2 separate regions of the Homo sapiens genome follow, and region 1 is linked to region 2. Evidence: promoter capture Hi-C in human tissues and cell types (Jung and others, 2019). All regions are on one chromosome and are shown on one strand. Each heading gives the region's core, a stretch centred on a gene start or on the middle of the fragment in contact. The rest is flanking DNA. Distances are from core to core; before and after follow the strand shown. Region 1 holds the start of CENPU (centromere protein U). Region 2 holds the start of HELT (helt bHLH transcription factor).

Evidence for each region. Contacts are between HindIII fragments. The study calls those that stand out against the background at their distance.
Region 1: a fragment that was not itself captured here is called in contact with the fragment with the promoter of HELT in region 2 in 1 of the 25 tissues and cell types used here (neural progenitor cells).

What each region holds. Positions count from the first base shown.
Region 1 is chr4:184,732,221-184,737,440 of GRCh38, reverse strand. It overlaps CENPU (centromere protein U), which reads left to right and starts at 3,345. Exons shown (of 13, transcript NM_024629.4): 1 at 3,345-3,425. The coding sequence starts at 3,379. RefSeq lists enhancers at 1,012-1,531, 3,769-3,888, 3,039-3,905 and a silencer at 3,339-3,398. The HindIII fragment of the contact is 8,312 bases long and covers 1-5,220 here.
Region 2 is chr4:185,016,347-185,021,575 of GRCh38, reverse strand. HELT (helt bHLH transcription factor) reads right to left here and starts at 3,086. Exons shown (of 4, transcript NM_001300781.2): 1 at 2,621-3,086; 2 at 2,085-2,189; 3 at 1,733-1,829; 4 at 623-1,303. The coding sequence starts at 2,647. The coding sequence ends at 804. RefSeq lists enhancers at 1-454, 455-1,382, 2,097-2,676, 2,677-3,255, 3,256-3,836. The HindIII fragment of the contact is 22,587 bases long and covers 1-5,229 here.

The DNA of each region.
Region 1 (5,220 bases), core at 947-3,446, 280 kb after region 2:
GGTGATTGGCCTGCTCCATTTTCTGTCCTCTCTGAACCACCAAGGTTTGTTTGTCTGAGGGCCATGACTAAGGCTGCAGCCTTTCTCTGATCTCGCTTTTCCTTTTGGGCCTGTTCCTCTTGGTCCCTATTATAGAACACCGAGGTTTCCAGGTTTAATAATGCCTCTAGATTTTGTTCAGGGCCCAGGGCTTGCTTTTGGAGCTTTCTCCTGATATCTGCAACTGATTGGGTAATAAACTTATCTTTTAGAATCAATTGACCCTCGAGTGATTCGGGTGACATGGGAGTGTATTTTCATAAGGCCTCCCATAGCCACTCAAGGAAGGCGGAAGGATTTTCTTCCTTTCCCTGAGTTATGGTGGACATCATTGAATAATTCATGGGCATTTTTCTAATTCTCCTTAGTCCTTCTAAAACACAGGTCAACAGATGTTTACAACTCCAGTCCCCATGATCTGAGTCAAGGTCCCAGTGGGGATCCATACTGGGGATGGCTTGCTGACTGGTAGGGAATTTGTCCCTTTCTTCGGCTGTCATTCTATCATTTACTTGACTAAGATACCAGGTATCTCCAAACTCTCAGGCTGCAGCTAAAGCCGCATTCTTTTCATTAAAGGCCAGGGTTTGATCTAACAGTAGCATGACATCTCTCCAAGCGAGGTCGAAGGTTTGCCCTAGACCCTGTAGGACATCTGTGTACCTATCAGGATCATCTGAAAACTTCCCCAGGTCTGCCTTGATCTGCTTTAAGTCAGAGAAGGAGAAGGGGACATGTACCCGGGTTGGGCCAAATTCCCCTCCCCCTACAGCTTGAAGGGGACATAGCCGATAACCTGGGGGTTTTTGTGGTCCTTTGGAGATTTCTTTGCTTATTTCCTTCTGGATAGGGGAGATTAGAGAGGATTATCATTAATAGGAAGGGGAGCTATAGGGAGGCTAGGATATGGGAGTAAGCTGAGAGGTCCTCTTGTGGGATGTAAATTGTAAGCTTTGCATAGTTGTGTATTTTCCCTCAATGAAAAGAAAGCTCGGACATAAGGTATTTCACTCCATTTGCCTTCCCTCTTACAGAAAAGGTCAAGCTGCAGGATACTATTATAATTTGTACTTCCCTCAGGTGGCCATTTTTCCCCATCAGAGAGAGAATATTGGTGCCAAGCTGCAGGGCAGACCACCTCTTTTACAGGGTTTATGGGTCAAATTGGTGCCAACGGCTTAGGATGCATTTCAAGGGTGAGCCTGTTGATGCCTGAGTGTTTCCCATCTGAAAGACAAAACCACCCGCGGTTTTGGTTTGTTTTGCTTGTCCCCCTGCCCAAGAACCCACAATGGTCCCTGGACCCTGCTGATCGGAATAGTTGCACTCACCGACGCAGCAGCAGAAACACTAGTTTTCCTCCCAGACCACATGGAGGACCAAGGAAGGTCGGATTTAGTGGCCCTTACCAACACATTCTCGAAAAACTGTTAAGGGTCCTAAGCATTCTCCTGTTAGTATTGGGACTTTATCCCTGTCCTATAAAGATGTTATGCCCCAAAAATGAAGTGGAGGGCCATACCCTGAGGGAGGGAAGGGATGTCCAAGGCTGGAAGAGTGACACCTTTTATCTTCACTTACATGAATAGGAAGGATACAATTTCTGAGGCTCCTCATAGCATACCTTCAGGAATAGCTTTTGTTAGGCCTGCTTGTCTGAGGAGGGATCCTAAAATTCCAGAAAAGATAGTCCCCCCCACCAAGATTGTGCCATTGCACTCCAGCCTGGGTGACAGAGCAAGACTCCATCTTGAAAAAAAAAAAAGAAATTAAAATAAAAAATATAAATAGGCCGGGCGCCGTGGCTCACGCCTGTCATCCCAGCACTTTGGGAGGCTGAGGTGGGCAGATCACGAGGTCAGGAGATCGAGACCTTCCTGACTAACACGGTGAAACCCCGTCTCTACTAAAAATACAAAAAAATTAGCCGGGCGTGGTGGCGGGCCCCTGTAGTCCCAGCTACTTCGGAGGTTGAGGCAGGAGAATGGCATGAACCCGGGAGGCAGAGCTTGCAGTGAGCCAAAATCAGGCCACTGCACTCCAGCCTGGTCGACAGAGCAAAACTCCAACTCAAAAAAAAAAAAAAAAAAAAAAAAAGAACTTACTCATGTAACCAAATAGCACCTGCACCCCAATAATTTATGGAAAAATAAAATAAATAAAAAATAAAAGCAATAGCTTTAGTAAGAAAGGGCACTTGCAGCATACCTACCAAATATCATATAAAGTTTAGAAACATACAATAATCAATACATTATTTGGGGCTATATCAAGGTAGAAAACCACAGGAATGATACACATAAAATCAGAAGAGTGGTTATTCTTTGGAGGAGGAGGATACCATTCAGAGGGGTACCCAAGAGTTATATATAAAAATGATCCATATCCCCATGTAGTGCTGGTTACACGGATGTTTGTTTTTATCTTTACATTACACGTTATATTCTTTCATATGCATGAAACGTAATATTTTTGTCGTAGTAAAATATACATAACAAAATTTAGCATTTTAACCGTTTTTAACTTTACAGTATTGTGGCATTAAGTACCTTCACCTTGTGCATCCATCCACCACTATTTCCAGAACGTTTTCATCATCCCAAACTGCTTTTGGTATCATATCCAAGAAATCATACCAAGTCCAATGTTATGAAGTTTTTGCTCTGTTTTCTTCTAAGAGTTTTAATTTTAGCCTTTATAGTTAGGTCTTTGATTCATTTTGCGTTAATTTTTATACGCGGTGTAAGGTAAGGGTTCAATTACATTCTTCTGCATTACACATTTTTAAACACAAACAAAATAAAAGAACAAAAGGAACCCTGTCCATTTACAAATGAAGGTATTGGGATAGCGGTAAAGTAACATGCTAAGCTCAGACAGCTGATAAAGGCAGCAGGGGCTGGAAGCCAAATCCTGTAGGCCTGGAAAGACGACTGCGGCCTCAGCGACAACAGCTGCGAACACGGGTCTCCACCCACCCTCTTACCTGCCCACGACTCAGGGACACTAGCTCCTCCCCTTTCCCCACCCCACAAGGGGCCGTCCCACGTGGCTCCCGGGCTTTCTGGCGCCGGAAAACTGGCGATGCGGGTGGGCGCGAAAGCCCGGAAAACTTTGGCATGTTTTGGACCGTAGGTAACTGGTTGTGCGGCATGGACTCCAGCTCCGTTGCGCTGTAATAACCAGACCCAGTTTTCCCTCACGCTCCAGGCCAGGGAGGAGCCCGGGGGCCGCTCAGGAAGTCCTGCGCACGCGCGCGTGCTCGGCCCGGATTGGCTGTTCGGAGCGGCGAGGGGCTTGGCGGGAGCTTCCAGTCGCTCGAGAGCGGAGAGCGGCACCATGGCCCCGCGGGGGCGGCGGCGGCCGCGGCCTCACAGGTCTGAGGGGTAAGTACTGCCGACCCTCGGGAGCGCGGGGCCGGAGACCAGCTTGAACTGCTTCCTCGCCTGCCGTGGTTTGCGCCTCCCGGCGCTGTTGGTGCTCCACTGTGGAGGTCGCCCGAGTGGCCAATCGCCCGGGTCCCCGGCTTCCTCCTCAGTCTAGTGGGGATAACAGTGATCCCACCTGCACGGGCCTGTCGGGGCCTAACACTGCCTGGCGGGTGGGAGAGACGTCAGCCAGTGTCGTGTCGTTTTGTGGGGAGGGGGAGTGCCGTCCAAAGTAGTGAGTCTCAAAGTGCTAGCTTGAAAGCAAAATATTCAGCAAATACGTATTGCCTGCGGTTTGCCAGACTTTGTTAGTGGAGTTTTATTCTCTGACTGGGAATCAGTTTTCTTATTTTGAAGACCCTGGTGTTTTCTTACTGCAAACCACAGACCGTAAACTGGAGCATAAATCCGGCTGGGGGACCGAGCTGCCGCTTGCGGTTCTCCAGGATGGCTCGAGCGGTTTTTGTTTACCAAAGAAAGCGAGCGTTTGGTCGGTTGCAAAACGCGCTCTAGAATGCTGGTCGCTGATTCGTTGGCGAATGGCCATCCAAGGCCCGGCCTGGATCTGGCGGGAAGGGTCTCGGCTTGCTGCAGACGGTGCACAAAGCCATACGCCAAGACGATCTGAAGAGAACAGGAGTTCCCCCGGGCCTGGGAAGGCTGCCTGGAGGAGGAGGTGCTGGTAGATGCGGGGTTAGGGTGGAAAAGCTGGAGCAGGACACCGCAGGTGGGTGGGGAAACCGAGACCAGACTTCTGTGGCCAGTGGAGGAGAATGAAGACTCCCCCAGTGCAAAAAAGGATTAGAAGAGAATGTCAGCCTTCAATGTCAGCTGAAAAGAGTTTATCTGAAAGGCTAGTGGTTTTTGTTGTCTTTTTTTATTTTTATCTTTTAACATTTTTGGGTTTGAGACTCATGAAATCTGTTCATGCCTCCTCCCAAAACACACTTACGCACATACAACAGAATTTTTTTTTTTTTTTTTTTTTGAGACGGAGTCTCACTCTGTGGCCCAGGCTGGAGTGCAGTGGCGCAATCTCCGCCTCCCAGGTTCAAGCGATTTTCCTGCCTCAGACTCCAGAGGAGCTGGGATTACAGGCGCTCGCCCCCACGTCCAGCTAATTTTTGTATTTTTAGTAAAGACGGGGTTTCACCATGTTGGCCAGGATGGTCTTGATTTCCTCACCTCGTGATCCGCCCTCCTGGGGTTCCCAAAGCGCTGAGATTACAGGCATGAGCCACCGCGCCTGGCCCAGAAATTTTACCTGTGGGTTGTCACAGAGGTTTCTGTCTCTCAGAAGCCCCACCTTGACTCCAGCGTAAGGCAAGGAGGAACCTTGACTTTTTTTCCCCCCCAAGAAAGGACAAGACAGCTCAAAGAGTTTAGGTTAAGAAGTTTATGTGGTCTAGTGTGTAGCTGGGTTTCTGTTACCTGGCTATGTGACCCTTGATAAGTCACTTAAATTTTCTGAATCCCGGAATCATCATCTATAAAATTGCCATAAAACCAATACTTGTCTTACCTGCTTCCTTAGGTTTCATGAATTAAATAAATAAATCGTGAACTTGTTAGAAATGCAGAATCCCAGACCTCACCCCAGAGGGACTGAATCAGACACTCCTGGGGTGGTGCCAAGCAACCTGTTCAACAAGCCCTCTTGAGAATTTTGATGACACTCAAGTCTGGGAACCACCGCTCTGAACAGTTTTCTAACTTTTTTTTTTTAACTGTGATTCACAGTAATGATGTTTTA
Region 2 (5,229 bases), core at 1,837-4,336:
GTGCCGACCTCTCGCCGAGACGCCCAGCGCCCCCGAAGCTGGCCTGCTCTGTGCGCAAAAGGCAACGCCAGCTTCTCGGAAGCCTCTGGCGCTGAGCAGTTGTCATCAACGATGTTGTTTCTAATCCGCAACTCAGAACTGTACTTGGTTCCGGTATTTTTTAGAGGATTTTTAATTCTGTAAACTCAGCCACGCGCCCCGCTGGCCCGGGTTTCGCCGCATTCCAGACCCGCGGGCGTGCGGTGCGCGCGCGTCGGGCACTTGGCTCCGGGTAGGACGGGCGCCCGGGTCGCAGCTGGCAACGGTCCGCCTAAGTCAGTTTGGGGCAGGTCCTTCAATTTGCATTTTCCTGAGAGCCAAGGGCAGTGTTCTTCGCCTCCCCTGTTTCTCTGAGGCTAATGCTCAAGATGGGGCGGGTGCAGGAAGCCGCGAATCCCGCCCTTAAGCGATGCCTAGAATATCTGCCTGAACCTCCATTTAACGTCCCCCTCCCTCAGACTCCACAGCGGGCCCCTCACCAAGTTACTGAGGGCTGTTACCTTGAACCCTGTCAGCCTTGCGCCCTGGGCACCGCGGAGGGGACGGGTGTGGATGAGCAGAAGGTAATACATAAATCCCTCTCTTTGGGTCTTTATCAGAAAACGTTTATTACCAGGGGGAGATCCTTCAGAAGACTCATTCGCTCTTTGCCTCCCCCAGCCCAGATTTTTGGGGTACAATATTTACACATTATGTGTACAATATATACAGCATTTCTCCTAAAAGCGCCCAAAGCGAGGAGAAATCTGGCGGGCGAGTGGGCGTCAGAGCACCGGGGGGTGCTGGGGCGTGTGCAGGTTAAGGGCGTTGGGGTGCGCGTGGCCGATCAGGTTGAGGTAATGCCGGTCCAGGCCCTGCACCGGTGTCAGGAAGGGGCTGTGCTGCTGCGCTGGGCTAGCGAGCGGCACTGGCGCGCTGGGCAGGTAGGGCAGCGCGGGGCTGCGGGCCGCGCCAGGCGGCCAGGGGAAAGGCCCGGCACCAGAGCCCTGCGGGAACACAGCGGCCTCGCCCGGGCTGTGACCAGCGAATTCGGGCCCCGCAGGGTGCAGCTGATAGGAGAAATCCGGCTCCGGGAGCGAACCCAGCGGCGGAAAGGCGGGCTCCGCGCCCAGGCGGGCCTTGGACTGCAAGAAGGCGAGGATGCGCGCGTACTTCGTGTCCTTGGTCTCCATCCGCTCCACCGTGGTGAGGTAATGCACCAGGTTCTTCATGCACTCGTGGTAGCCATAGTGGAAGTAGTTGGCAAACTCCGCTAGAAGTTCTGCTGGAGGAACGAGAAAGCCCGTAGGACGGACACACCCTGAGTGCCCCTTCCCCACGCGAGCCCAAAGCGGGTGCAGGGCACCTCCCACCACATTTTCTGGCCAAAGTTCCCATTTGAGGCCCGCCCTCTCCTCTGCGCAGTCTTAGAGACTGGCGAGGCACGCGCAAACGCCCTCTTTCCCTGAGAGCCTGACCCCACCCACCCCACCCGGGAGAAGGAGGTGGAACCAGCCTCCCTGGGAACCAGTTCTCCCTCGCCGCCTTGCTGTCGCCGAGCAGGGAGAGGCGCCTTCGCAGGACCCCTGCCCTCCTGGAGAGTGGAGCTCTAGTAGAGCTCTCGGGAACACTCAGTCACTCCCCTCCCAGCCCCAGGGTCTCTGGGTGGCGCAGGCGCCTGGCCCAGGCGTCCCATTCCCTAACCTGTGCCCACCTTTTTCCCTTCCCCGGGGAAAATCAGCGGAGTGCAGTGCTCTCAGGTACTGAACGGTCATCTCGAGGATCTCCGCCTTCTCCAGCTTCCCGGAACTCTGCAAAAGGAGGAAGGGCCCCTCGCAGCGGCCCAGCGCCTGCTGGTCGGGCACTGTGGCGCTGGAGAGGACCAGCGAGCGGACGCGGCTGCGGATCTGCGCCAGAGCCTCCTGAGGTTCGCCCTGCGCTCAGGCCCCCCGCCTGGGAGGGGCCCGCAAGTGAGGTCCTCTGTGTCCGCGGGCTCGGGCGTCTCCGCAGAGTGGCCGCAGAGGCCTCCCAACGCCTGGCACCCGGCTCCGGGTCGCCAACGTTACCTGCTTCGCCAAGGCCATGGGCACTGTCTTGCCCAGCTCGTTCAAGCAGCGGTTGATCCTGTCCCTCCTCCGCTTTTCTATCACTTTATGAGAAACGGGGGTTCTCTGCGAAGAGAGGGTTGTATGTTTAGGATGGCTTTGCCCGGGAAGTCGTCAAAGGCGCGGCTCTAGCAGCTGGGTGCAAGCCGCCTCTCCAGCCGCGCACACTGCTCAGATTCGCTCTAGGAAGGGACTCCTGGCCCGCCACGCTCGGGCCAGGTGAGCTCTGCCTTCTGACGCCCGCGCTGGCGCGCTCCCCTTCCAGCCACCCTACCCAGGCCTTTGGGGAGGTGGCCGCCAGCCTCCAGGCAGGACTTCTACCTGGTTGAGCACCCTCCTCTCTCTACCCCACCCCCTTCCCAAACCACTCGAGATTCCTCCACACTCAAAGTCCCGTGCGGGCACTTCCCTGCCATCGGTCCACCCAAGTGGCGGGTCGGTGAGTCAGATGCCTCCACCACCAGGGCGCAAGTGCCATTTGGGCTCAGCCGACTCACTTTGCGTTCCTTGAGCTTGTCTGACATCCTGGTCAGTACGCGCCCTCGGGAGAGGCGGTGGCGCGGGGCACCCGTCCACTTTTCCGCCTCGTGTGCCTCCTCGAGTGTCCCAGGTAGACTGCAGCCTCCCAACTCCGAGGGCTGCCTTATAAAGCGGTCATCTAGGGCTCCAGATGCATTCACGAGTTGAATTATTCCATAGGATTAGGGGAGCTGCGTTTGGAGGATGTATGCATTCAAGATCAGTTTTAAAGAAGTTAAGAAAAAAAAAAAATTAGCAGCCGAGGGGGGCGAGCTGGGGGCAGATCAGCTTTGTTAATCCACGTGGCCCTTCAAAGGACACGTGATCGGCCCAGGAATAACATTTGCATGGCAACAGCTCGGGCGGGAAAAGGAGGCGGTAAACTGGGGCCGGCGGGCGAGCAAGCGCCTGCAGCAGTCGCGGGCGCGGAGCGCAGGGGCGCAGCGGCCGCGGGCACCGGGGGGCGAGGACCCTCACAAAACAGTGTCGCCTCTTTTAGTCCCACCGCTGAGTCTCACATGATCGCCTGTTTACAAATCCCAGCAAGCCCGCCGTCCCAGCGCCGAGTGCGTTTTAAAGCCTGTCCAGAGTCATTAAAGTAATTAAGTAAGCCTTTAATAGGCTGTTCCGCCGGGTTCAAGGGAGAGCTCTTGGAGACGGAGGCGCCCCGTTTGTTCCCAGGCTTTTCTCACACGACTTGGTGACACGTCCTTCTCCCCCCTTTTTGTTTACACCGCTTTATTTGTCCGGACATCCCGGCAGGTGTGGGGCTGCGGCTGGCACACGAGGCTCCCGCCTCGCCTCGCCTCGCCCCTCCCGCCGCTGTTTGGCACGCGACGCTCCCCCCTACTCCCTGACCACGTCGCTGGCTTTCTTTTCTCCCCACCCCTCCTGCTCCCTCTTCGCGGGGGGAAGAGGCTCAATTTGTAGCCTATTATCCTATACGAAAATGTCCATTGAAAAGTATGAATAGTTTCATTGGGCTAAATTTTAATAATGCCAGAGGGTGGGGGAGGAGAGACTGGCGGGCGTGTGTGTGTGTTTGTGTGTGAAGGGGCGGGTGGGAGGATTGGGGGGCAACACGGAGAAGAGTGGGCCGAGAAGAAAAGGGGGAATGCAGCTGGCCCAGGCAAGCATTATGCAACGTCACCTGCGAGAGGGGGCGCCTACAGACCCCTATTCATTTGCCTAATTTTGGTCAATTTAACAAACTTCAGGAGAAATTATTGTGGCTTTGTCAGGGAGGGTGAAGCCTTCTGATCGAATTAACAGCATGTTTTGATCCGGTAAATGTCATTAGAAAGGGAGAAACAATCGCGCTTAGAGGGCTCTGAGTAATGCGCCCAAGTGGAGACGCCAAAGCGCACGGCTCACAAAGGGAGCAAGTAGCTGCCACAGGGAACTTTTGTACCCGCCCATCGCCCAAGTTTTGACACAAAAAGGCATTATTTCATACTTGAATACGTTTAATCCAACGATTGTCTATTTTCTGCAAACATATTTTCACAGCATTGTTAACTTTTTATGTCTCCCTTTCGCTGGCGTCTTTTCTTAACGTTTGGGGGCGGGAGAGCGCAGACACTTTGGGCATCAATATTTGTCACTGAAAAGGGCCCTGTGAAGTTTGGGAAGTTGATCTCTTTTTTATGGTTTTAGAAAGCGAAAATATCGGGGGGAGGAGGAGGGAGGGAAGGCACGAACAGAAACGAGGGAGGAAATTTGCTGGACGGGCCCAAGGGGAAGGAGGGGGGCGGCGGCGGCTGGGAACTCTCTTGGCCGCCTGCGCCTCTGAGGGCAACCTGGCCCCGCGGCCAGAGGCCACCTCCCCCAGGACGGGCCTCGCTCACACTTGCTGCCTCGGATCCTATACTCTGGGGGCTCTGAGCTTGTGGGGTGTGGGTGGGGGGTGAGCTTTCTTGCAGATTGAAACGATAAAAATGATTTTTGTTTTATGGCCCTTTCTAGAGCCACCGAACTCTCACCTCTCTAATCTTTTCCATCTGGGAACAGCTGAGACCGCTTCTCAGATTTTTCTTCTTTTCTGCCTGCCCCTAACCCTGCCTAAATTCTCTCTGTTCTGCAGGGAGATGGCAGGGCCCAGCGCCCCCCTTGGGGTCGTTAGACCTTGGCAGGGGTGGGTAGGCGGCGCTCTTCTAGCTGGTGGGACCTGGGAGCCTCAGGGCGCAGAGCCAGGCCTGGGGTGCCAGGCCTCGGGGAAGCCATCGGCCCACCTGCTGCGGCCTGGGAGATGTGAGGGCTCGGTCTGCACCTCGCACCCCTAGGGTGTCCCTCTCGGTCCTGCCTCTAGTCTCCTCACGATGTTTCCTTTCTGCTTCACGCCAGATTGGACACGATCCGCACCCTCCCAGGTTGCTCTGCCAGCCGCGAGTGCCCTCTCAGGGGTTGTCGATTTCAGGATATTCACTCGCACACAAAGAGATTAAACGCGAACCCTTATCATCCAAATTAACTAACGTGAATGGGTAAAAAGGAGCGCGCACACTTCGCACTCCCACTCCCATTTTTAAGCCAGCGGCCCGGGCGTTGATCCTCTTACTGCCGGTGTTAACCGCCAGCTGCAGGCACC